Linked DNA regions of Homo sapiens: regions 1, 2, 4 and 5 are each linked to region 3. Evidence: promoter capture Hi-C in 16 types of primary human blood cells and fetal thymus (Javierre and others, 2016). All regions are on one chromosome and are shown on one strand. Each heading gives the region's core, a stretch centred on a gene start or on the middle of the fragment in contact. The rest is flanking DNA. Distances are from core to core; before and after follow the strand shown. Region 1 holds the start of SLAMF1 (signaling lymphocytic activation molecule family member 1). Region 2 has its middle 2.1 kb from the start of KLHDC9. Region 3 holds the start of ITLN1 (intelectin 1). Region 4 overlaps CD48 (CD48 molecule). Region 5 overlaps SLAMF7 (SLAM family member 7).

The links. Contacts are between HindIII fragments. The CHiCAGO score rates a contact against its expected background, and 5 or more counts as called.
Region 1: a fragment that was not itself captured here is called in contact with the fragment with the promoter of ITLN1 in region 3 in 1 of 17 cell types (megakaryocytes); the score reaches 5.6 in megakaryocytes.
Region 2: a contact is called between a fragment that was not itself captured here and the fragment with the promoter of ITLN1 in region 3, in 1 of 17 cell types (activated CD4 T cells). The highest score is 5.0, in activated CD4 T cells.
Region 4: a contact is called between a fragment that was not itself captured here and the fragment with the promoter of ITLN1 in region 3, in 11 of 17 cell types (fetal thymus, megakaryocytes, total CD8 T cells and 8 more). The highest score is 9.2, in fetal thymus.
Region 5: a contact is called between a fragment that was not itself captured here and the fragment with the promoter of ITLN1 in region 3, in 7 of 17 cell types (fetal thymus, naive CD4 T cells, activated CD4 T cells and 4 more). The highest score is 6.8, in fetal thymus.

What each region holds. Positions count from the first base shown.
Region 1 is chr1:160,645,139-160,647,871 of GRCh38, reverse strand. It overlaps SLAMF1 (signaling lymphocytic activation molecule family member 1), which reads left to right and starts at 828. Exons shown (of 7, transcript NM_003037.5): 1 at 828-1,002. The coding sequence starts at 927. It overlaps LOC107985220 (a long non-coding RNA gene), which reads right to left and starts at 863. Exons shown (of 2, transcript XR_001738266.2): 1 at 537-863; 2 at 1-399. RefSeq lists enhancers at 697-746, 787-996. The HindIII fragment of the contact is 1,112 bases long and covers 857-1,968 here.
Region 2 is chr1:161,094,874-161,097,604 of GRCh38, reverse strand. No RefSeq gene overlaps it. Among named protein-coding and RNA genes, the nearest start is that of KLHDC9, 2.1 kb to the left of the region's middle. The HindIII fragment of the contact is 2,624 bases long and covers 90-2,713 here.
Region 3 is chr1:160,883,909-160,886,663 of GRCh38, reverse strand. It overlaps ITLN1 (intelectin 1), which reads left to right and starts at 1,484. Exons shown (of 8, transcript NM_017625.3): 1 at 1,484-1,603; 2 at 1,781-1,844. The coding sequence starts at 1,787. The HindIII fragment of the contact is 4,692 bases long and covers 1,473-2,755 here.
Region 4 is chr1:160,683,758-160,686,508 of GRCh38, reverse strand. CD48 (CD48 molecule) reads left to right here. Exons shown (of 4, transcript NM_001778.4): 2 at 1,320-1,622. It overlaps LOC124904439 (endogenous retrovirus group K member 18 Env polyprotein), which reads right to left. Exons shown (of 1, transcript XM_047438433.1): 1 at 1-2,751. Among named protein-coding and RNA genes, the nearest start is that of CD48, 27 kb to the left of the region's middle. The HindIII fragment of the contact is 715 bases long and covers 1,144-1,858 here.
Region 5 is chr1:160,747,252-160,749,954 of GRCh38, reverse strand. It overlaps SLAMF7 (SLAM family member 7), which reads right to left. Exons shown (of 7, transcript NM_021181.5): 2 at 1,441-1,761; 3 at 1-134. Among named protein-coding and RNA genes, the nearest start is that of SLAMF7, 9.4 kb to the right of the region's middle. The HindIII fragment of the contact is 7,230 bases long and covers 1-2,703 here.

The DNA.
Region 1 (2,733 bases), core at 163-2,662, 240 kb after region 3:
TCTATCAACATATCTCATATACCCCATACAAATATATGCATACCCCATACATATATATATACATACACACACACACACACACACACACACACACACACACACACACACATATATGTATATCTACTATGTACCCACAGACGTTAAAAATTAGAGGAGAAAACACACACACAACAAGGAGACTGAGCTGGAAGGATGGAGCTCTGGGATAGATTTGTCCTACATCCCTGCCTGGGAGGGAATCCACACACATGCAAGAAGACAAACTAGGAGCATGGGCTACTAAATTATACCACATTGCACTCATCGGGGTCACAGGGTTTCTTCCAAGTGACCCGCACATGCCCTTCCCATCTCTGTGTGACAGTGGCACCTGCACCAGACTGCATGTTGAGGTGTCATCTGAAATTATGAAATAAAACAGAAGTAAGAGGTCTATTAGCTCATCAAAATGCAGTTATCTAAGTTCAGCTGTGAACTGCCAAATTTGAGGAGTGATCCAATGAAACATCTTTTCTTTGCAATCCAAGAAGACTTACCGGAGAGAACTGCTCAGAGAATCTGCAACATCCGGTTCCTGGAGACAGCTAAGGAAAGAAGCTGGGGCGCATGTTTCTGCCCAAAGCCGGGTTTTGGCCGAGGTGACTACACACCCCCTTTCCTGGCTCCCATAGGCTAAGTGCCTGGCTTCTTGAGAAGCCTGCTTCTTGAGAACAAAAAAGTGATTTAAAGCCTCATGGGAGATGAGCAATCCTCAAGACACAAGCAGAAAAAGTCCCAGTGATACAGGAAGCGGGTTCAGGAACCTGCTGGTTCCTGATACATAAATCAGACAGCCTCTGCTGCATGACACGAAGCTTGCTTCTGCCTGGCATCTGTGAGCAGCTGCCAGGCTCCGGCCAGGATCCCTTCCTTCTCCTCATTGGCTGATGGATCCCAAGGGGCTCCTCTCCTTGACCTTCGTGCTGTTTCTCTCCCTGGCTTTTGGGGCAAGCTACGGAACAGGTGAGTGTTCATCTGCCTGATGGTTTGAGTCCCATGTTAGCTGCCAGGAATCAGCGTATCTTCGTGGATGGAGAGAAGGTGCAGGGCTGGGTATTGTGTTTGGTCACTCTTCCTTAGGGACTGGCTGTCAGTTTCAACTGCCTCTTTCAAAGAGGAAGGAACATTATAAGTTCCTGGGCCCTTGGGTTTCCAAGACTCAGCCCCACCAACCCCAGTTTCCAAGGAAATGAGGGGCTCTAAGCCAAAGGCTCCAGTCACTTTTCTGACCAGTCTTAGGGTGACAGGCCCTGGTAGAAGTCTTGCTTGAGTGGTTGGTTTTACATGGGCATCTTCTGGCAAAGACCCAGCCTAGAGAGACTGAGCTGGATGGACTGAGCTCTGGGAGAAGATTTGCCCTACATCCCTGCCCTGGGAGGGAATCTGTGCACATGCAGGCTGACAAACCAGGAGCATGGGTCAACAGAAAGCATTGGCTAGAGTGGGAAGAGAGAGTAGAAGTGAAAACTCCAGGCTTTTGGCTGAGAACCAGCAGTGGCCACAGTGCGGTCATACTGGTGTGTATTTTCTTGGAAGAGAAGGTCCAAGAAAGCAAGAGGGAAGAAGTTGGGATTTCTGAAGGCTAGGGCTGGTTACAGTATGTGGGAAATGCAAATTGGGAACCCTCAGAGAGTAGCTCCAGCAGGAAGGCCAGACAAGAGCTACCTTTGGATCTGGACTCTGTTCCTGTCTTTCTGTCTATCTTCTTCCCAAGGCAGGCTATTGCTTTCTGTTTAGAAGTATCAGGGCTATGAGAAAAGGTATTTGAGAAAGAAAAAGCCAAGCAAGAAGTGGACTTTGGACTGCCTGTGTGAGTGGGGTGAGAATCTCCTTCTGCTTATTTGTTTAGACTGTGGGAGGTAGCCTGGAGTAGAAGAGGTGGCATTACGGACACGGGGGGAAATCCTGAGGCCCAGGGTGTTTTAAGCTTGGGGTTTTCAAGACCGCAAATCCAATATGGACTTTTCCAGGAAAAGCACCGTGATATGCCAGGGATGTGGGGGTGCTGCACAATGGATGTGTCTTTTACCAGACAGCCAGACGAACAGGGCTTGCTCAGCCCACTTTCTTTTGGAATCTGCAGATCCATGGCTCGTACTTCCCAAGGTCTAGGGGAGGAAGAACTGAGCTCGGGGCTCAGAAAACCAAATCGAGCCACTTTAAGTGGTCACAGGGAAAGCCAAGCCTCCGTTGTTGCAACCAATTTGTGACTGCACCATTTCTGGAGCACCTCTTGGTGACTGTAAGGTGTGATGGAGTGATGGTGCTGAACTGTGAACTGGACTTTTCCATCTCTGTGCTTGCTAGCCTCTTGGCCAGCCTGGCCCATAGCATCTTAGGCACTGCTGACCAATAGCTCGTCTTATTGAGGCTTTGGAAGTCGCCGGTCAGGGAGAAGCAACCCAGCCCCACAAGGCAAGTCTATCCAATCGGAGGCTGCTCACTTCATTGCATGTTTTCTTCTTTGAATCTTCACAAAAGTTTTTCAGTGTTTTTATTTTTAAATACACACCCTTTTGTGAAGCCCCAATAAAACCCAGACAGAAATGCTTTGCAAATGGGGCAGGTTAGTCATGACAGATTTGCCCAAGCAAGAAGCTTGATTCTTGTAAAACTGGCATCCACTCCCATTCTCATTTCTACTCAGCTCAACTTCTAATTCCCAGTCAGAATTGTAAAAATCAAAAAGTCCAC
Region 2 (2,731 bases), core at 152-2,651, 210 kb before region 3:
TCCCTGATATCTTTTATTTAAGCCAGTTTCCAGATATTAACTCTGTCCCCCAGGACCAAGTGATAACTGAAGAGGCCCAGATGCAAGCTTTCTGCTTTCAGCTGAAGGAGGAAATACAGACAGAATTTTCCTCCCAACACAGCTGGTGTGGGGCAAAAACAGGATCTGTGTCCTCTGGGACTGGGCTGTAAGTGGGAATGATGACTGCTACTTGTGGCCTTTGGTTTCTACACATCACCTTGCTCCCCATCATACCTGAGATACTGAGACCATAGAAAGTGGCCAGGCAGGAGAATCACTTGAGGCCAGGAGTTCAGGAGTTCAAGACCAGCCTGGGTAACATAGTGAGACCCTGGCGAAAGAAAGAAAGAAAAAAAGAAAAGAAATAAAGAAAGGAAGAAAGGAGACAGTGGCCAGGGCTGCAGTGAGGATGGGCATGTAATGCAGGGTCTGATAGCACAGCAGGGCTTTCCCCTCCTCTTCCCAACTCTTGGTCCTCAGAGAACACAGCATGGGGATGGCATGGGCAGGAAAGGCACAGTTACAGAGATTGGAAGATTACCAGGACCTGTTCCCCACCTGTACCTTAAAGCCAAGATTCAACAATAGCTTTGAAAGTCTCTGCCCTCCCAACTATAGCTTTCCCTGAGTATGACAGGCAGTATTCTCAGTTTTCCAAAATCATGGTAAGAATCTCTAAAAAATCACTAACTTTTACTGTCCTTGGCTGAAATTTAAAAGTCAGTCTTTTCCCTCAGGCTTCTTTCTCACTGGCTAACCTCCCAACAGCTGGATTCAGATCTGTCATACTCCTAGGATTAGGCAAGGGCTTGCCTCAGGGGTGGGGCAATTTTGCTTAAACCTTATTGGCCTATATGTCCATTTTAGGCTCTTGCTTTTGCCTAAGTCTTGGCTGTTCTGTTAGACTTACTTTCTGCCTTTCCTGGATAGAAATGGGAACTCCCCACCCCACGGGCCTTTCCAGCTCCTCTCTCCCAGCTTCCTCTCTGACTCTGAGTCCTTAGCAGTAGGCATCTTAGTTAGACATAGAGCTTGAACCTCACATACTCCTTGGCTGTACCCTCTCCAGTTCTGTACCTAGATGCTTCCAGTTCCTCCTAATAGCTGGAAGCATCTGTCCATTGCTTTGCCATCCCAAGACCCTGGGAGAGGAACTGCCTAGGACTCCTACCTTCTTAGGTTAGTTTGAACCAAATCCATATTTTGGAGGAGGGAGAAAAGAAGCCAGAAAGAGAGAAACAGAGAGAGGAAGAAAGCAAACCAGCCAACCTGGACTTGTATGACACATGCTTCACACCGCAGGACAGCATCTGCAGTGGTCTATAATGACCTTGTCAATGATACACAAACTGAAAGGGCATTAAGATAAGTGAAAGGGGGAACTGAGAGAAAATTGTGAGAGACAGGGAAAAGGGCAGCCAGGGCTGTGAACCTGCTTTCACCTGCTAATAATATCCAGGGACAACCTCTGTCCAGAAATGAGAGCAGGGACTGGATATCCTGAAAGTCTCGTAATCCTGATGTGATCCCCTGATGTTGGCTTTGTCTCAGTTGGCCAAGAGTCTATATGATCTCTAGCAAGCAAGCACCCAGCTTCCTACCTAGCCTTAGATGTCTATCCTAGCCCCAAATCTACGCCCCCTTGCCTCAAACTTTCACAAAGCTCTTACTCTATCTTCTCCCTTCCTTAACCCCATTTTCTGACCCTGGAACCATCTCTGGTTCTTAGCATTATTCGGTACATACAGAAAACCAACAATTGGGCTGGGTGTGGTGGCTCACGCCTATAATCCCAACACTTTGGGAAGCCAAGGTGGGTGGATCACTTGAGGCCAGGAGTTCAAGACCAGCCTGGCCAACATGGTGAAACCCCATCTCTACTAAAAATAAAAAATAAAAAATTCACCAGCCGTGGTGGTGCATGCCTGTAGTCCCAGCTACTCTGGAGGCTGAGGCAAGAGAATCGCTTGAACCTGGGAGGCTGAGGTTGCAGTGAGCCGCGATTGTGCCATTGCACTCCAGCCTGGGTGACTGAGAGAGAAAGAGAAAGAGAGAGAGAAAGAAAAGAAAGAGAGAGAGAAAGAAAAGAGAGAGCGAGAAAGAAAAGAGAGAGAGAAAGAAAAGAGAGCAAGAAAGAAAAGAGAGAGAGAGAAAGAAAAGAGAGAGAAAGACAGAAAGACAGAAGGAAGGAAGGAAAGAAAGAAAGAAGAAAGAAAGAAAGAAGGAAGGAAGGAAGGAAAGAAAGAAGGAAAGAAAGAAAGAAAGACCAACAATTGCACCAAACGGTCTTAATCGCACTCAAGACTCCCACAGTTCCCTCTGCCCATGTCTCCCAGGCTGTCCCCATCCTTCAGGCCCTTTCTTTGACTCTTCTTCTGCTGTACCCTGACCCTTCTCTATTTCTCACACAGCTCATTCTAGCTGCTTGACTTCCTGGCCCTATGCCATCCTGGCCCCATTTCTGACTCTTTGCTCTCAGCTCAGCCAGAATAAAGACAGGGACAAAAGGACAGAGAAATGACCAGGCAAAGAGACTGCATGAGGTCAGATCTTGAGAGCTCCTTTGACTGAATGTGAGCTAGAAGGAGATTGAGAGAAAGGTGAAATTGTAAGCAGGCTTTAGGGTGGAGGGGAGTGGTAATCAGCCAAGGTAGAGAATGATGGAGAGGTGGAATAAGGATGGGGAGAAGCTTATGTTGTTGAGGGAGTA
Region 3 (2,755 bases), core at 235-2,734:
GACACGGTTTCACCGTGTTGATCAGGCTGGTCTTGAACTCCTGACCTCAAGTGATTGGCCACCCTCGTCCCCTCAAAGTGCTGGGATTACAGGTGTAAGCCGCAGCGCCTGGCTGAGACCTCTATTTCTAAGAGGTTGTTGTTTGTAAATATGAAAGCTGGGTATGTTCATTTTGTTACCTATACTGATGAGTTAATTTAGTTTCTAATACATTTAATTTTATTTAATTAATTATTTTCCAGATACACAGAGCAAATAGCTTCTAATAGATTTTAAATTTACAAAAGTATAACTTTTTTTTGCAGTTTTTCTTCTTGGGTGCTATTTTATTTTCTTCTATCAATATGTGAGTATTTTTTGCAAATCAGTACTTTGAACCAACAAATAGGAAATATTAGCTTAACAAAAAAGATATTCACAATCTTTGTAAGAAAAGGTTGCAGTATTATTAATGCTATAATGACATTATGTATTAAATGTATGATATCACTGGGGAAGAACTGAGTAATTCTATTACAGCTGCAGGGTAGCATTTGAGAACTTCATGACATAGGAGCAGGAATAAGACAGGAGGTTCGAAGCAGCAGAGAGGTTTCGTATTGATTCAGTTTCAAATGAATCCTGTAGTAAATTTTCCCTCGTTTGTGGCAAAATGACAAAATTAAAGACAAAGTAGTGAGTCTTTGTGTGAAACTAAATTATTCAAACTAAAGATTTATATATTTTTTAAAACTTTTCTATTCGTATTTTTTTGTGTGTTTTGTATCTCTTTCCCCTCCATTCCTTTTTACCAATTTATTCAGAAATGATCACTTTCCCATTTTGTTAAAATTTCCTTTTTCTATTTCTATGAATTGATAATTATGGCCAATGATTAATTTCATTTATTTATTTATTTTGAGATACCTAAGCTGAAGTACAGTGGCACGGTCATATTTCACTGAATCCTCTATCTCTGGGACTTAAGTTACCCTTTTGCCTTGCCTCAGCCCCACCTGAAACTATAGGCAAGTACCACCATGCCATGCTAATTTTTTTACTTTTATTTTTAGTAGAGAAGAGGTTGCCCTATGTTGCCCAGGCTGGTCTCAAACTCCTGAGTTCAAGTGATCCTTCTGCCTTGGCCTCCCAAAGTATTGGGATTTGAGCCAATGTGCCAAGCCAACAGATGCTTAATTTAGAGAAAGTTTTTATTTTGCAAGAAAGAAAGGCACAAAAACCCAAAACCAACACCAACTCTTGTTAATCTCTTCGTCTACTTCCTACTTGACACAGGTCCATGAAACCCCCAGATCCAGGAACAACGCTAGCAGGTGATTCTTAGGATTGGTTTTTTCTTTAGAACCTGTTAATTCCACTGTATAAATAACCTCCCCGAGATAACCAGAAGCCTCCCCTGCACTGGGCATTGTGCCAGGGGAGGGTGAGGCTGGAAACCTTGGTTGGCCCCACTGGGCTTCCTCCATAAAGCTTTCTGCACCTCATTCCACATCAGGAGCGTTTTTGGAGAAAGCTGCACTCTGTTGAGCTCCAGGGCGCAGTGGAGGGAGGGAGTGAAGGAGCTCTCTGTACCCAAGGAAAGTGCAGCTGAGACTCAGACAAGGTCTGTGAGTTGGGGGAATCCTGTTTTCAGCTTAGGTCTGCTTTTGGTCTCAGAGATGTGTGAAGTTTAAACAAAAGGCAAGGGGTTTTGGAGTCTTTGTAAGACTGGACAGGGGTGGGGCAGGGATGTAGAGAAAAATGATGGCCAAGATGGTGACCTTCATCTTGCTTTCTTTAGATTACAATGAACCAACTCAGCTTCCTGCTGTTTCTCATAGCGACCACCAGAGGATGGAGTACAGGTGAGTCACGCTGCTAGGGACAGCAGTTCCTTCAGCTGGATGACTTCCGGGATCCTGGTCTCTCCCAGGACACAGAGCATGTCCTTGAGATGCACAGCGGCTGGCTTGCATGTAGACTGAGTGCCGATTTCTGGTCTCTGGCGGAATCTGGCCTGTGGCAGTGAAGGTATTGCTTGAGGCATGTCCTGGGTCCAGGCTCTGTGCTTTTGTGTGGCCCTGAGGGGGCTGTGGCAAGAACTGTGTCACCTTCCAGCCACTGCCCACTCCTGTGGCCTTGGCTGTGGGATTTCCATGGGAACTACATGGTCTGCTTTGTGCCTGGAGAATGTTCTCTCCACAGTTTTCCTCTCTACAACAAGAATAACAATGACATTTTAAAATTTATATTTTTCTTCACGTCTAAAAATTTTTTTTTTAAAGAAAAGGCTGTTTCGAAATATCTTCTTACTTCATCTTTGCAAAAGCACTGTTTATTAACTGTGTTTTAGGTATGAGGAAACTGAGGTCAGTCACCTCTGACCTCACAGCTTTCCCCTAGACTGTTCGAATAGTTTGCAGACTTTTTGGAGTAGAGATTAGTCTCACCACTCCCTACTTCACACCCCATGTTTCAGCCATATTAAGCAGCTTGTAGTTCTACAGCTGGACTACGCTGTATTTTTTTTTTTTTCTCTAGGCCTTTGGATATGCTGTTTTCCCTGCCTTGGATTGGCTTCCTACTGATAAATCATGTTTATTCTCTCAGAATAAGCTAAGATGTCACCTGGACTGGAAGGTCTTCTGTGACTAAGACATGAGACAACCCGTCTTGCCTTCTTCTCCCAGGCAACTGCCCCGCTTACTGTCTGGCGTTTCCATTCTCCACTGTTACCTCAGAGTCTTTCTTTTGTTCTCTTGAGTTTGCCTTTCTT
Region 4 (2,751 bases), core at 252-2,751, 200 kb after region 3:
CAGATAGTTCTTAACAAATATTAGCTTTTAATCACCCTTTGGCTTACCCTAGTGGTCATCTCCTCCAAAGAGATTTTTCTTAGTATTTTCTCCATTTTCTATCCCTACCCTCCGGATAGGAATATATTCCCATAGCACACTGTGTTTATTGTCAGGAGTCAGGAAATGATGCCCTAAAATGATGGCCTCAGAAGCAGCCTCAGAAGTGAAAGTTTTTCTCTGACCTTCTCCTGCCCTCCTGTCTATCAGTCCCATTCTCCCCTAGGCTAGCCATAGACACTGGAATCCCTCTTTCCCAAGGTGGGCCATAGAAGCCAAAACCCCTTTTCCCCAAAGCCAGCCATAAAATTTAAATATACCACCCTAACTTTCCTTGAGCCTTTCTCTGTAAAAAAAAAATAGCTATAAAGAAATTATCTGACCTATCTTGTTTGATTGTGAATCATAAGACCCCCATTCTAGAGAGGGCCTGACCCACACACGGGAGGAAGGAAAGAATCTGGCACAGAAAGGCCAAGCAGAATCTAGAAAGATAGGCCTTGCTGGGTTTCCCGCAGTCAGTCTATTGGCATTCAATCATACCCTTTTTGTCCAATCATATTTCTCCATGACTGTCCATACTTTGTTGAACCTAAGCATAAAAATGGACAATTTGCCCTGTATCTTTGGCTCTTCATTAGGAAGGCTCTGCTTACACGTTAAATTGATCTGTATGCCTTTCCTCCTTAATCTGCCTCTTGTCAGTGATTTTTGGCAAACCTTCAGAAGGTGAAGGGGAAGCTTTCCCTTGGTCCCCACGTTACCTTTATTATAGTCATCAAGATAATATATTAGGATTATTTGTTTGTGTGTTTGTCCTCCCACATTGGTATATTAAATATTTTTAAACAGAATCATGTACTTTTTATGTCTATGCCTCTAGGGACTAACAACATGCTTACTGAAATGAGAATAGACAGGAAACACAAGACCAGAGCAGAGATATGACTTGTCATCAGTTTATTTGAAAGTCTACTGGTATGAGAGTAAGGGAGAGAGCCAGGCCCAACCTCAGTTGGCCTTACTCAATTCTTTCATTTTCTGGGGACAGTACTAGATTAATTATAAGCAGCATCCCCTTCCCCCATGCCCACTTTTCAAGCTTCAACTTTTCTTGAGTTCCTAAGCAGGAGACCTGGACCTCCAGTGAAAACCATACTCACTGCTCCTAAGCAGAAATCCCTTCCTTCTCACCTGTTCCACCAGCCCAGGCTATACCCTGGGCCTGTCAGCAACACTGCCTCCTCTAGCGCAGGTCTCACTCTGAATCTCATTGGCAGGTCACTTGGTACATATGACCGTGGTCTCCGGCAGCAACGTGACTCTGAACATCTCTGAGAGCCTGCCTGAGAACTACAAACAACTAACCTGGTTTTATACTTTCGACCAGAAGATTGTAGAATGGGATTCCAGAAAATCTAAGTACTTTGAATCCAAATTTAAAGGCAGGGTCAGACTTGATCCTCAGAGTGGCGCACTGTACATCTCTAAGGTCCAGAAAGAGGACAACAGCACCTACATCATGAGGGTGTTGAAAAAGACTGGGAATGAGCAAGAATGGAAGATCAAGCTGCAAGTGCTTGGTGAGTCAGGGGAGCCAAAGAGCAAATCCCCACTCCAGTGGCCCCAGATGGACCACTGTAGGGCTTCCTGGGAGGCATGGGGCACTCTCGGGGAGGAGGAGAGAAAAACCTCAGGACAGGTTTGATTCATTTTTCCTTGATCCAATTCTATTTGGGAGTGAGCCTAGGTCAACAGATATCCAAATTAACAATCTTAGGACATTTAACACCTCTTCTGAAGTTAGTGAGTCTAAGCTTTGAAGAGAAGGAAAACTAGAGATTTTTCCTATTTCCTTCATTTTGTCCTGTGATCAACCTAAATCAGCTCAGCTCATCTTGATTATATCTCCGAAATTAGGCTTCATTGGACTTAAGAAAAAAGAGAATGTATTAATATAAAGAATGGGGCAGGAGTTATCAGGAGAATTTTTCAACTTTCATAATGGGCAGGACAAAAAAACTTCCACTCATAGCTCCAGTCTAACCAGTGTATATGGAATAAGGACTCAGGCATTATACCTGGAGCCAGACAGACTTGGGTTCAAAACTGGTCAGTTGCTCACTAGCTGTGCAGCCTTGAAAAAAGATCTTCACATCTCTGTGCCCATATTAGGTAAGATTCTTTTGATAGCAAATAACAGAAACTAATTCAATGTACCTTTACCAAAAAAGGAGAATTTAGTTTAAGAAACTAGGGCTATTTAAAGCAATTCAAAGAGTTTAAAAGAGCTAGGAAGGGCTTAAGGGGAGAAGATTGAAAACCAGGTTCGGGCCAGAACCCCTAGCTTCAGGAATCTGTGGACTGTGCCTATGGATTTGGATTCCTGCCATTTTACACATGTTATCTCTCAAAACTTAGACTTTTGCTCCTCTGAGTTTCAATTCTCAGGGCAATTTAAAGAGAGAGAAACTGATAGTCCCAATTTAGTTCAGGTGTGTGTACCTGATCTAAACATTTTTGGTGAAAGGATCAGATTATAGGGCAGAAACATGGATATGGGGAGGGGCTCCAGGGGTTGGGGTATGCAATTCTTGTAGAAGAGCGGGGCTAAATAATCCAAGAGTGGTGTTCCCTTGAGAGCCTTGGGTTCTTCATCATATTATGAGAATAATTCTACTTACCTTTCAGGATGTTATTAGAGTCAAAGTA
Region 5 (2,703 bases), core at 66-2,565, 140 kb after region 3:
TGCTTGCCCCAGGGCCTTCCAGGTATAAATCACATCCTCTTCCCCATGTTCCATGCAGCATGTCAGATTGGTCACACAGGTGCCATTCTTATTGCTCTGCAGACCCATGGTGACTTTAGGCTTTGACAGGTGCTCTGTGAGAGGAAGGAAAACCAGAGGTGGAAACTCTGCCTATAGCTCTCCATTCTCTGAATTATCCTTGGATACCTTGGACCTGAATCTCCCTGGGAGCTCCAGACTGGAGAGAAAGCAGTAATTCAGAGCAGAATCCTCATTCGTATCTGGAAAAGAGAACTACCTAGGTCTGCTTTACCATAGCTATATAATAATAATAACAATAACAACAATAGAAATAATAGAAATAATAATGCAATAAGAATATAACTGTCATTTACTAAGCATAGCCACATGGCAAGCACTGTGATAACGCATGTTAGATGTCCGCTAATATTATCTGTTCTAGAGGTTCCCTAGTCTCTGTCCTCAGGCTTCCCTTTACTCTCTATGAGAGTTCACTTTACTCTCTAGGAGAAAATTGTGTTGGAGTAGCCCTTCTGGCCCCCTTCTCTACTCTGTGCTCACTCCCCTGCCTCAGAGAATGAGTAGTTGGTTCATTGGTGAGATGGTAAGAGTCTGACATTCATCATTTACCTTTCTCTACTCATGGGTTTGAGACGTTAAAGGTTGCAGTTAAAATGTGTTTTGCCCTTTTTCTTCCTCCCCTGACTAGTTAGCCTGCAGAATACATATCTTCTGTTCCCTTCAACCATGTCTATATGGAAGACACACCTGGATCAGGTGCAGTGCCTACCTCCTACAAGCAAGTCTGGAGGCCCATCCCCTAAGGTTCCTGATACTGTGGCTCAGTGAGTGAAGCAGCTATTCTTCTTGAAGAAGTTTGAGTCATTGTTTCATAATTTTAACTTCCCTGGATGAGTGCCAAGGTCTAGAATTGAAAGGAAGCATTTCTCCTGTCTAGATTTACCAGAAATATGCTGATATTTTAATCCCCTCCTTCTTGCATCTATTTATCAATTGGTTGTAATCTGTAGAGAAAGAGATGTGATCGATATTTTGCCCAAAAATCTTCCTAAGGTAGGCATTTCTTTCCTCCCCACTACAGATATGGAAACTAAGACTTGAAGAAATTAAATAACTCGGCTAAGGTCATGTGACTAAATAAAGAAGCCAGCATTTGACCTTGATCTATGCGATGGCCACTGCACATATCAGCCATCCACTGCACCACGCTGCTTCTTACAACATCTCTGAGTAGGCAGGGACCTCAGGGGTCAGCTACATCTATTTCATTCATGCAGAAGTCCCCTCTCCCACATTCTTGCCAAGTGTTTATTCAGCCTCTGCTTAAACATCTCTCATGTCAAGGAGCTCACCACCTCACCAAGGCAGCCATCCACCATTGGAACTGATTTTGCTCACCGTAGACATGCAGCACGTACTCCTGGGTGGAGGGCTGCTGGAGTGATGAGCTGTATATCCCCACATAGTAGATCCCTGAGTCATTCTTCTTCAGTTTGCTGAGCTTCAGGGAGTAGCCTCCATCTGGGAAGTCTACTCTCTCCCTATTACGATTTTGGGTCACTATGATAGTGCCCCCTTCTGGCTGTATGGTGACAAGAGGGGTTGTGTTGAAGGTCCAGACAATAGAGTCAACTTGCTTTACTTTGGACTTCAGGGGGAAAGTCACGGCCCCACCAACGGAACCGACCAGCTCTTTCACGGGTCCAGAGGCTGCTGACCCTATAAACACAGAGAACCATAAAATAAGCCTGATTCCCTGTCCTTGTCACCAATTACTCACCCCCTTTGGGTCCTGGAGAGATCTGAGAAACCCACTCAGTCCAACACAACAACCTCCTGGAAAAGCCTTTGGAACCTCATATAGAGGTCCCTCACATGTTACCCTATTATGTAAGTGCTCACATGGAAGCATTATATTAGAAATTTATGTATCACAACAATCTTAGTTCACTCCCAGAGAGTATGACTTATAAAAAATCATCACTGATTATGTGGTTGTAGGTGAAAAACAGTTAAGAATGTCTGCTGAAGAAACTTCCAGAAGTGGCCAGCTGAGCATTACCAGTAAACAGATGTGGGGAGTAAGTCATCTTATTCTTACCTATTAAACTTGAGAGACAGACTCTGGGAATAACACAGAGCAGTGAGAGAATTTAGTTTGGGACTAGCAGTTTAAAAGCATAAATTATAATCTTGATTAACACTTTTGTTTTTGAGACAGAGTCTCACTCTGTTGCCCAGGCGGGATTGCAGTGGCACGATCTCAGCTCACTACAACCTCCACGTCCTGGGTTCAAGTGATTGTCTTGCCTCAGAGTGATTGTCTTTCTTCAGCCTCCTGAGTAGCTGGGAGTCCAGGTGTGTGCCATCTTACCTAGCTAATTTTTGTGTTTTTAGTAGAGGTGGGGTTTTCACCATGTTGGCCAGGCTGATCTTGAACTCCTGACCTCAAGTGATCTGCCCGCCTCTGCCTCCCAAAGTGCTGGATTGCAGGCATGAGCCACCACACCCAGCCTTGTTTAACTCTTAAAACAACTTTTTGAAGAAACATTCTTTATATCCCTATCTTACGGATCAGGAATGTGAGGCACAGTGGGGGTAAATGACTTACTCAAGCCACCTAGTAAGAGGCAGAGTACACACCAAAACCCACAGGGTCGA